2 separate regions of the Homo sapiens genome follow, and region 1 is linked to region 2. Evidence: promoter capture Hi-C in 16 types of primary human blood cells and fetal thymus (Javierre and others, 2016). All regions are on one chromosome and are shown on one strand. Each heading gives the region's core, a stretch centred on a gene start or on the middle of the fragment in contact. The rest is flanking DNA. Distances are from core to core; before and after follow the strand shown.

Region 1 (4,474 bases), core at 1-2,500, 1.0 Mb after region 2:
TGTTGTGATTGTTATTCTCTGGCTCCTCTTTACTTGATTGCAAATTTAAAAGAACACTCTGGCATTTTAGAAATATGTAAGCTTTGTATTTGAGCCTTTGCAAGTAAAGAATAAAAAGAGAATAGTTTACAATTCAGCCCACAGAATACGTTAGAACACTATAGAATGCTGAGTTTAGGAGAAGGTTCACTCCATATTAATCTTTTATTATACATGATTATGGTTAGAAAACGATTTGAGCTATGTTCAACACCAGCCATCTGTATATTTGACATAATGAACATGAGTCACAGAGTTTCAATTTTAATTACAGTTTTTGTTTTGTGATGCTTTAATATATGTTTGCAGTGCTGTGCATGTTGGTTGGGAAGCATTTTGTAACTTGAAAAGGAGAAAGGAACTTGGAATTCAGGTTTCTCAAATTACCAAAATCCTTCTGAGGAAAAATTGTATTATGTTGGCATGTGCTTTTTTTTTTTCGATTGGCAGTGTTGATGGAAGTTTCATCTATGTTATCTTCAGAACACATTTAGAGACTCCTACACCTCTGAAAACTTGAGAGTCAGTACTGTTTGGTTAATTTATACATTAATCAGGTGTGTATCAATTATCAGCAATGTGCAAAGCTCCATGTATGCCACTCCCGGTATTGCAAAAAATTATAATCCACATTTCCTGCCCTTTTCCAGTTATATAACAATATCTGAGGGATGCCAAAAATCTTGTGTGGGGTAAATTTCCAGTTGAATGGTATAAAAAGTAGGTAGAATTTAGAGGAGGAAGTGATCCCATGGCCTGGGAGTTGGCAGTTGGAAGATCGAAGTGACCAGAGACAGTTGGACCAGACAGCCTCTCAGACATGTTTATGTCTAATGCCAATATAAGAAATCATAAAAGTGTAGAAGTAAGACTCCTCATTCTTGGGTTTGTTCTTTTTATCCCAAGGACTTTAAACATAGATCATAAAGTAGTAAAATCTGTTTAGATGAGACTTTGGGATAGAGAAATGAAAGTTTGGAAAGGTCATAGCACTTCTTTCCTCTAAAATGGATATAGATGAATCTCAGCTTTTTTCGTATCGAACTCACGTTAGCACCATAGTTGGTACTTACTGAATACTTTCATTTTAGATTTCTGATTGTCAGATGCACAGCAGTGATTAGTGAAGGAAATATCAAACCTTGCCAAGTCTTTGAGGTTTAAAATTATCATTGATCTCATATGCATGATTGCATTTTATATTGTTGATTGCAAATTATTCTTATAATGGCCTTAGTGGGACACAGGAACTAAAAATACGTCCTCACAAACGCATCCTTGATTATGTTTTTCTATTTTAGGAGCGTTTTATTGTCGTCAGAGAACCAAGTGGCACACTACGCAAAGCCTCTTGGGAAGAACGGGACCGAATGATACAAGTTTATTTCCCAAAAGAAGGTCGTAAAATTTTGACACCAATAATTTTCAAGGAAGAAAATCTTAGGGTAAGGTGACTTAGGTTTTATGTTTTAGAGCCAGTGGTGATGATTTATTTGTAGAACCAGTTGGCTTTGTGCCTTGATCCAGATAAACATTTCTAATGATAACTTGACTTTTTTTTTTTTTTGAAATGGAGTTTCGCTCCTTTTGCCCAGGCTGAAGTGCAGTGGCGGGATCTCAGCTCACTGCAACCTCCACCTTCTGGTTTCAAGTGATTCTTCTGCCTCAGCCTCATGAGTAGCTGGGATTACAGGCGCCCGCCACCACGCTTGGCTAATTTTTGTATTTTTAGTAGAGATGGGGTTTCACCATGTTGGCCAGGCTGGTCTTGAACTCCTGACCTCGGGATTCGCACCCCCCCCCCGCAATCCGACTCCCAAAGTGCTGGGATTACAGGCGTGAGCCACCATGCCTGGCCGACTTCTTTCTTAATAGAATCCTCCTTACCACCCAAGATGGGTTGTACTAGGGTTCTCTCATAATTGGCTTAGCTGGAATTTGAATCTAGGTGTGACAATTACAAAGCCTGTGTTCTTTCTTTATGCTTCTTGAGGAGCACAGAGTGGCCAGTATGTGGGTGGGCAGGCCTGTCATGACATCAGGACAGGTGCTGAACTTCAGTGTTCTCATGTGATGCTAACTCTGCTGTGTGGTTTTAGACTATGTATAGCCAGGACAGGCATGTTGATGTCCTCAATCTCTGCTTTGCCCAGTTTGAGCCAGATTCCACAGAGTATATCAAGGTGAGTAGATTTTAGTTTCTAAAATATAGGCTTAAGTATGGTTATGAGTAAGATTTTTAATCTAGCTCAATGAATTTCGTTGTAAGTTTTGATACAGGGGAAAGGGAAGAGAAATACCTGAAAATCTATTGAGTACAGTTGTGTGCCAGATATATATTTTATAATCACAACAACCCTTGATTAAAGATGAGGGAATTTAAGCTTGTAGAATTAAGTAGCTTGCTGAAAGTTGCATAGCTACTAAGTGGTAGGGTTAGGACCCAAGTTTGATGACAAAGCCTATTCTCTTTTCAGTTTACCGTATAGGAATCAAATTATTTACTAAAATTTTGCTGAAGTACAGTGTGTTTGTCTTACAGCTCAGTAAGTATTCATTAGTACCTTCTATGTGTAAGGTATTATCTTGGGTAGTATAGGTGATGCCACGAACTAGGATAGAGTATGCTGTGCCAAAGCCAGCAGTCCGGATATGGCTGTGGGGAAAGGTGCTAGTAAGTATACAAATAATTATCTCCTCAGGCCTAAAATGCTAGACACTAAGAGAAGATTACAAATTCTTTGAAGAAAGCCTTCATAGGGGTGTAAAGGAGGGTTCTAGAAGTGCAGGAAATGTTGTGGCAGGTGGAGCTGGGTGAGGTGTTTCAGGTAGAGAGAACAGTATAAGCAACAGGCAGGAAAAAAGGAGGCTTGAGAAACGGCCAGTGATCTGGTTTGCTTATATATGCCATGTATATGTAGGGGAGTGATTAAAGATTAAGTTAGGAAGGTGGATGTAGCCACATCATAGGTGACCTCAGATGCTAGGCTGAGGAATCTGGAATTCAGTCAGCAGACCTTTGAAAGCCTTTTGAACAGAGGAATGCCCCCATCAGAACCTTCATTTAGGAAGATCAATCTGGAAGGAGGACTGAAGGACCTTTAGTTAATAAGATGGAATGGGCTAGCTGGTAGAATAGGGTAGTTGATGGGGGGAGGGATAGGGGAAAGGGAGAGTAGTGAAAAAATACTTGATTTCTTTTCTGCCATAGTGACCAAGAAGTGGGTGCTACATTATTTCCAGTGGTCTCTATATGCATAATCGGTGCTTAATAAATTGTAGTTGGCCTGCCAAAAAGTACTTAATATGGCTATAAATGTTTGGTATTTTGCTTCAGGCTGCCACATACTTCTACAGTGGAGAAGGCACAGACTTGCTGTCATTTAGACAAATTCTTCTCTTTTAATTTTTTTAAAGACAGGGTCTTATTCTGTGGCCTGCCATGCCCAGCTAATTTTTTAAAAAATTTTCCTAGAGATGAGGACTGCTCAAGCAGTCCTCCCACCTCAGCTTCCCAAAGTGTTGGGATTATAGGCATGAGCCACTGTGCCTGGCCAAAATTCTTTCTTAATAGAATCCTCCTTCCCACCTAAGGTGGGTTGTACTAGGAATGGTTTAAATCATACCAATTGGTTAATGATATGGAGGCAACTGTAAGTAGACCTGGTTTTACTTGCTTGGGCAGCACTCATGCTAATCAGTGTACGTTGAATAATGCTGCATACTTCTTATTTTCATGTTTCTGAAGAGTTGCATTTTATGTGGATAGGTTCATCACAAGACCTATGAAGATATAGATAAACGTGGAAAATATGACCTTTTACGTTCAACAAGATACTTTGGTGGAATGGTGTGGTATTTTGTAAATAATAAAAAGATTGATGGTTTGCTGATTGACCAGATTCAGAGAGATTTGTAAGTATGATCTTAGTAAGTGAAAGAATCATTCTTATTGCTCTAACAGTTCATCTGTATTTAGGCTATGGTATTTTTCCAGTGATAACAGTGTACTGTCTAGTGCTTGCTTACCTCAGTTTATGGATTTGTTCTTTTAGTATAACCTAGCTCTCCTAGTTTTTGCTTTTATATAAAGTGTAAGTAAGCCACTTACTTTCTCTTGAAAGAGTAAGTGGCTTTGGATCTGTACTGTAAACCCTCAATATTAACTTATCCTGAGCTCACCAATGCTCCTGGGTTGCTGAACTTTCCAGATACCGAAAGGGGGATTAAATAGGAAATGTAAAGAAGTAGAAATAAGCTCTGTGGTTGTTTTCTGGTAGAACTATTTCTAGGGCTTTTCAGTAAACACCATCCTTTAACTTATGAAAATACTTTTGATATCCCTTGCTTTTGCAAGATTTTTAAGGCATGAAAAAGTTAGCTTCTTTTCAGAGTAGCATGAAACAAAAAATACCTGTTGTATTTTAGCATCAAG
Region 2 (4,041 bases), core at 1,042-3,541:
TTGCATAGATGTTGGCTCAGCTCAAGCTGAGGGCATGGTCAGGGTCTTGTGCCAGTCAGGGCCCAAGAGAGGACATCTCTTACATGGGGAGCCCACGAGGGGCTGACAGGCCACCAGGATGTACAGATCCCTGCCCGCCTTCCCAAGTTCTGTGGTAAATAGAGGGGGTTGAGGGAGTCAGGTTCCAGGGCAAACCTAGACAGTCGAGGTAAACTACTGTCCCTCAAGCCTTCTCCCCAACCAGGTCTTTTACTCCCTACTGCCAAGGAGAGATACTCTTGATGGCACCCAACCTGCTGTCCCCTTCCTGGGGGACACTTGGGGTCTACAGGGTCTTTGGAGCAGCAGGTGGGAGTGGAGGCACAGGGGGTGCACAGCAGCTCCCACCAAATGGCTGCATGGGTGGCTGGGATGCCAAAGGAAGCCTGCATGGGATTAAGAGCCTCAGCATGGCAGGCAGAGCCAGCAGCACTGTGAGGCTCCCTTAGGCCTGGGGCAAACCTGAGAAGGGAGTGGGTTCCCTGGACATGTAAAGCTGGTTCTAAGTCATTGAGGTCCACCCAGAAAAAGAATGTCCTCAGAAATGATGCTGACAATCAAAACCACAATGAAATGCCATTTCGCCCCCAATAGGATGACTAGAATAAAAAAAGACACACAATTACAAGTGTTTGCAAAGATGTGGAGATATTGGAACCCTCATATGTTGTTGGTGGGAATGTAAAATGGTGCAGCTGCTTTGGAAAACAGTTTGGCAGTTCCCCCAAAAGTTAAACATGGAGTTAACATATGATCCAGGAATTCCACTCTTAGGTATATACCCAAGAGAAAGAAAAGCATATGTTCATACAAAGACTTGTACATGAATATTCATAGCAGCTTTATTCACAGTAGCCCCAAAGCAGAAAACTAAATATCCATCAAGTGATGCAGGGATAAACAAAACGTATAGACATACAGTGAAATATTACTCAGTCATGAAAAGGAATGAAGTACTGCTACATGTTACAACATGAATAGATCATTAAACATTGGTTACTGAAAGAAGCTAGTCATAGTCACAAAAGGCCACATGTTGTATGATTCCGTTTATAGAAAATGTCCTGAATAGGGAAATCCATAGAGATTGAAAGTAGATTAGTGGTTCCCAGAGGCGGAGGAAAGGGGTGAATGAGGAGTGACTGCTAACGGGTAGTTCTTTTTGTGAGGGGCAGGGGAGGGGAGTGGGAAGTGGTGAAAATGTTCTGGAATTAGCTCATGGTGATGGTTGCAAAACTTTGTGAATATGCTAAACACCACTGAATCGTACACTTTTTTTTTTTTGAGACAGCGTCTCACTCTGTTGCCCAGGCTAGAGTGCAGTAGCGCAATCTCGGCTCACTACAACCTCTGCCTCCCGGGTTCACGTGATTCTCCTGCCTCAGCCTCCCGAGTAGATGAGATCACAGGCACGTGCCGCCATGCCGGGTTGACTTTTGTATTTTTAGTAGAGACGGGGTTTCACCATGTTGCCTAGGCTGGTCTTGAACTCCTGACCTCAGGCGATTCACCCGCCTCGGCCTCCCAAAGTGTTAGGATTACAGGCGTGAGCCACCGCGCCCGGCTTGAATTGTACACTTCAAAAGGTGGAATTTTATGGTGTTGAATTATATCTTTATTTTTTTAACGGGGGGAAAATGACGCCGCTGGAGAGGAGTTAGCGGAACTGAAACAATGAAATGGTGCGCGAGTGTCGCCTGTCCCCGTCGCATCCATCCCAACGAAGTTTGGGCCCTGGAACGGTGCACCCAGAAGGCCTGCGGGGAGAGACGCTGGGGCATGATCTGGAAGAAAGACGTCTCAGGATTCGAAGGGAATGCAGCTAAGGTGGCGGCGGAGGTTCGCCTAGGACTGGGGAGGCGTCCCTAGGCTCAGAAGTTGGCCCGGCCGGAGCGGAGATTTAAAGGTTGGAGCGCAGAGGCTCTTAAAGAGGCCGAGTCGAATTCCCACTCGGCGTCCACCTTAAAGCCAGCTCCCCGGCACCACGGATCTGACCCGGGTAAGTGCTGGGCCGCGGGAGAGGCTGCGGCGCCGACCCCAGCCCCTGGCGCTCTAGCGCGCCCTGCCGGGCCCAGGGGACTCGGCGCGGGTGGGCTGGACTTCGTAGGCGCGCGTCCTGGGGGCCGGGGTGCACGCGGGGGCGACAGGGTCGAGGCACCCGGCCCGGGCTCCCCACTGGCGCGCCCGCAGCGGCGCTCTATTTTTAGCAGGCGCTGTGGCAATATAAGGAATGCGCGGCGCGCTAGGCGCTCGGGGCGCACGCTGGCGGCGCGGTCGCTTTAAGGAGGCGCCGGGGCGGGGACGGACCGGAGTGGCCGGCTGGCGGGGAGCCGTCAGTCCGGCGGCCGCGGGGCCCGGCGGGCGCGACGCTGCCTCCTCACCGGCGCAGGCTAGGAGGGGGCGGCCTGAGTGCCGTAGCCGAGCCGGGGCTGGAGCGCGCGGTGAGTGGTCGGGCGGCCTTGGAGGGGAGGGGGCCCGGCCGCGCCGCCTCTCGCCCCGGCCGTCGCTTTGTTCCGGGGCGGGAGGTGTGGCCGCCCTCCGGGCTCGGCCGCGCTCTCCGCTTGCGGGGTGCGCCCTGGGACCGGCTGTGCGTGGCGTTTTGCCCCCATCGCGGGCTCCCGCGTAACGGTGTGCGTTCGTGAAATCGGCCACGACCAAGACCCCAGTGGGGAGGGCCTGCGCGCCGCTCAGAGAGACCCTTTCATGGTAATTACAGTTCCTTGGCTGCCTGGGCGAGAACCCGGTGGATAGATGGGCGGCAGGACGGGGCGGCGGGGGATGGGTGGGTGGGTGGGGGACTCTTTACCCCCCCGCCTTAAGATGGCGTTAACGAGGGGAGGGATCCGCCAGGGAGTTGACAAATTCATCTGAATAATAAAACGCAGCCTGCTTCATAAACAACCCTTCACTGCCCCCGGAGGTTTGGGGAGCTGGAGCTGTGGTCACAACTAGGGCCTGGGCTCATGCATTGAACTGATCTGGCTGAGGCATCAGACACGGTGCCAGTCCTGCCCTGCGGGGAAGACAAGAGCACAAAGTGACAAGCCAGTGTGGTAAGTGCTGAGATTCGGTAAGCCCAGGGGTTGTGGGAGCCCCTAGGGGTCCCTACTGCAGAGTGGGAGGTGAGAGAAGGCCGCCTAGAGGAGTTAATGTCTGGCTGGCCGCAGCGTATACACTGGACACCCAGTTAGACTCTGGCTAGAGCTGAGGTCTGTTCTGGCCTGGGGCAAAGTGGAGTCTGGAGAGGTGGACAGAGTCCATCAAGGCCACTGGGGCCTTGATCATAGAGCTCTGCCATTGCCCCTACTCCCCAATGGCCCCTGATGGTGTGGAACCTCCCTGGCCTTGCTCCTCTAGGACTCACTCTGTCCTGGACCTGACCAGAGAGGGTGGCTGACAAGGCTCGGAATCGTGGCCTCCAGAGGTTTGTCTGGCAGCAGAAGTAAGATGGAGATATGACTTTAAGAGCTCTGAAACTCCACTGTAATAACAGCAACCAACAGGGCTTCCAAAGACCAGGCACTTGAAGTGGATTTGCTCATCATTTGACAAGACACCTCTTGACAAGACACCTCCAGAAGGATTTTGTTTATTGTAAAGGATGGAGGAACTGGGGTGAAAAAGAGCCAACAGCTTGCCCAAGATCATATCTGAAGTCCATGCTTTTGGCCACGTGGCTGTCCTGGGCTTCGGAAGGCTCTGGTGCAGCCTGTGTTAGAGTTTTGTAATATATTGTTTTATAATTATTCACTATAGACATTCACTGGTGGGTTGAAGTGTGAGGCAGTGAGCTGTGGGTATTAATAACTGACTCGTGTCAGAAGCTTAGCAGTGAACAAAGCACTTTCTCGGATACGGTTCTTAGAGCTTCTCCTGCTTCTTTTCCCGGGGAAGAAACTTGAGCTGCTAACATTTTGTAAACCTCCTAATTTCCTGTAAATCACATGTCCCTGCTGAGTGGGGCTGAAAATGTTTCGGGCAATGGTTTTCACCCTTAGGTCT

Evidence for each region. Contacts are between HindIII fragments. The CHiCAGO score rates a contact against its expected background, and 5 or more counts as called.
Region 1: a contact is called between a fragment that was not itself captured here and the fragment with the promoter of MRAS in region 2, in 1 of 17 cell types (activated CD4 T cells). The highest score is 5.9, in activated CD4 T cells.

What each region holds. Positions count from the first base shown.
Region 1 is chr3:139,348,839-139,353,312 of GRCh38, forward strand. MRPS22 (mitochondrial ribosomal protein S22) reads left to right here. Exons shown (of 8, transcript NM_020191.4): 4 at 1,341-1,484; 5 at 2,139-2,222; 6 at 3,809-3,954. Among named protein-coding and RNA genes, the nearest start is that of MRPS22, 7.1 kb to the left of the region's middle. The HindIII fragment of the contact is 2,342 bases long and covers 80-2,421 here.
Region 2 is chr3:138,346,288-138,350,328 of GRCh38, forward strand. It overlaps MRAS (muscle RAS oncogene homolog), which reads left to right and starts at 2,292. Exons shown (of 6, transcript NM_001085049.3): 1 at 2,292-2,480. RefSeq lists an enhancer at 1,804-2,759. The HindIII fragment of the contact is 4,446 bases long and covers 1-3,861 here.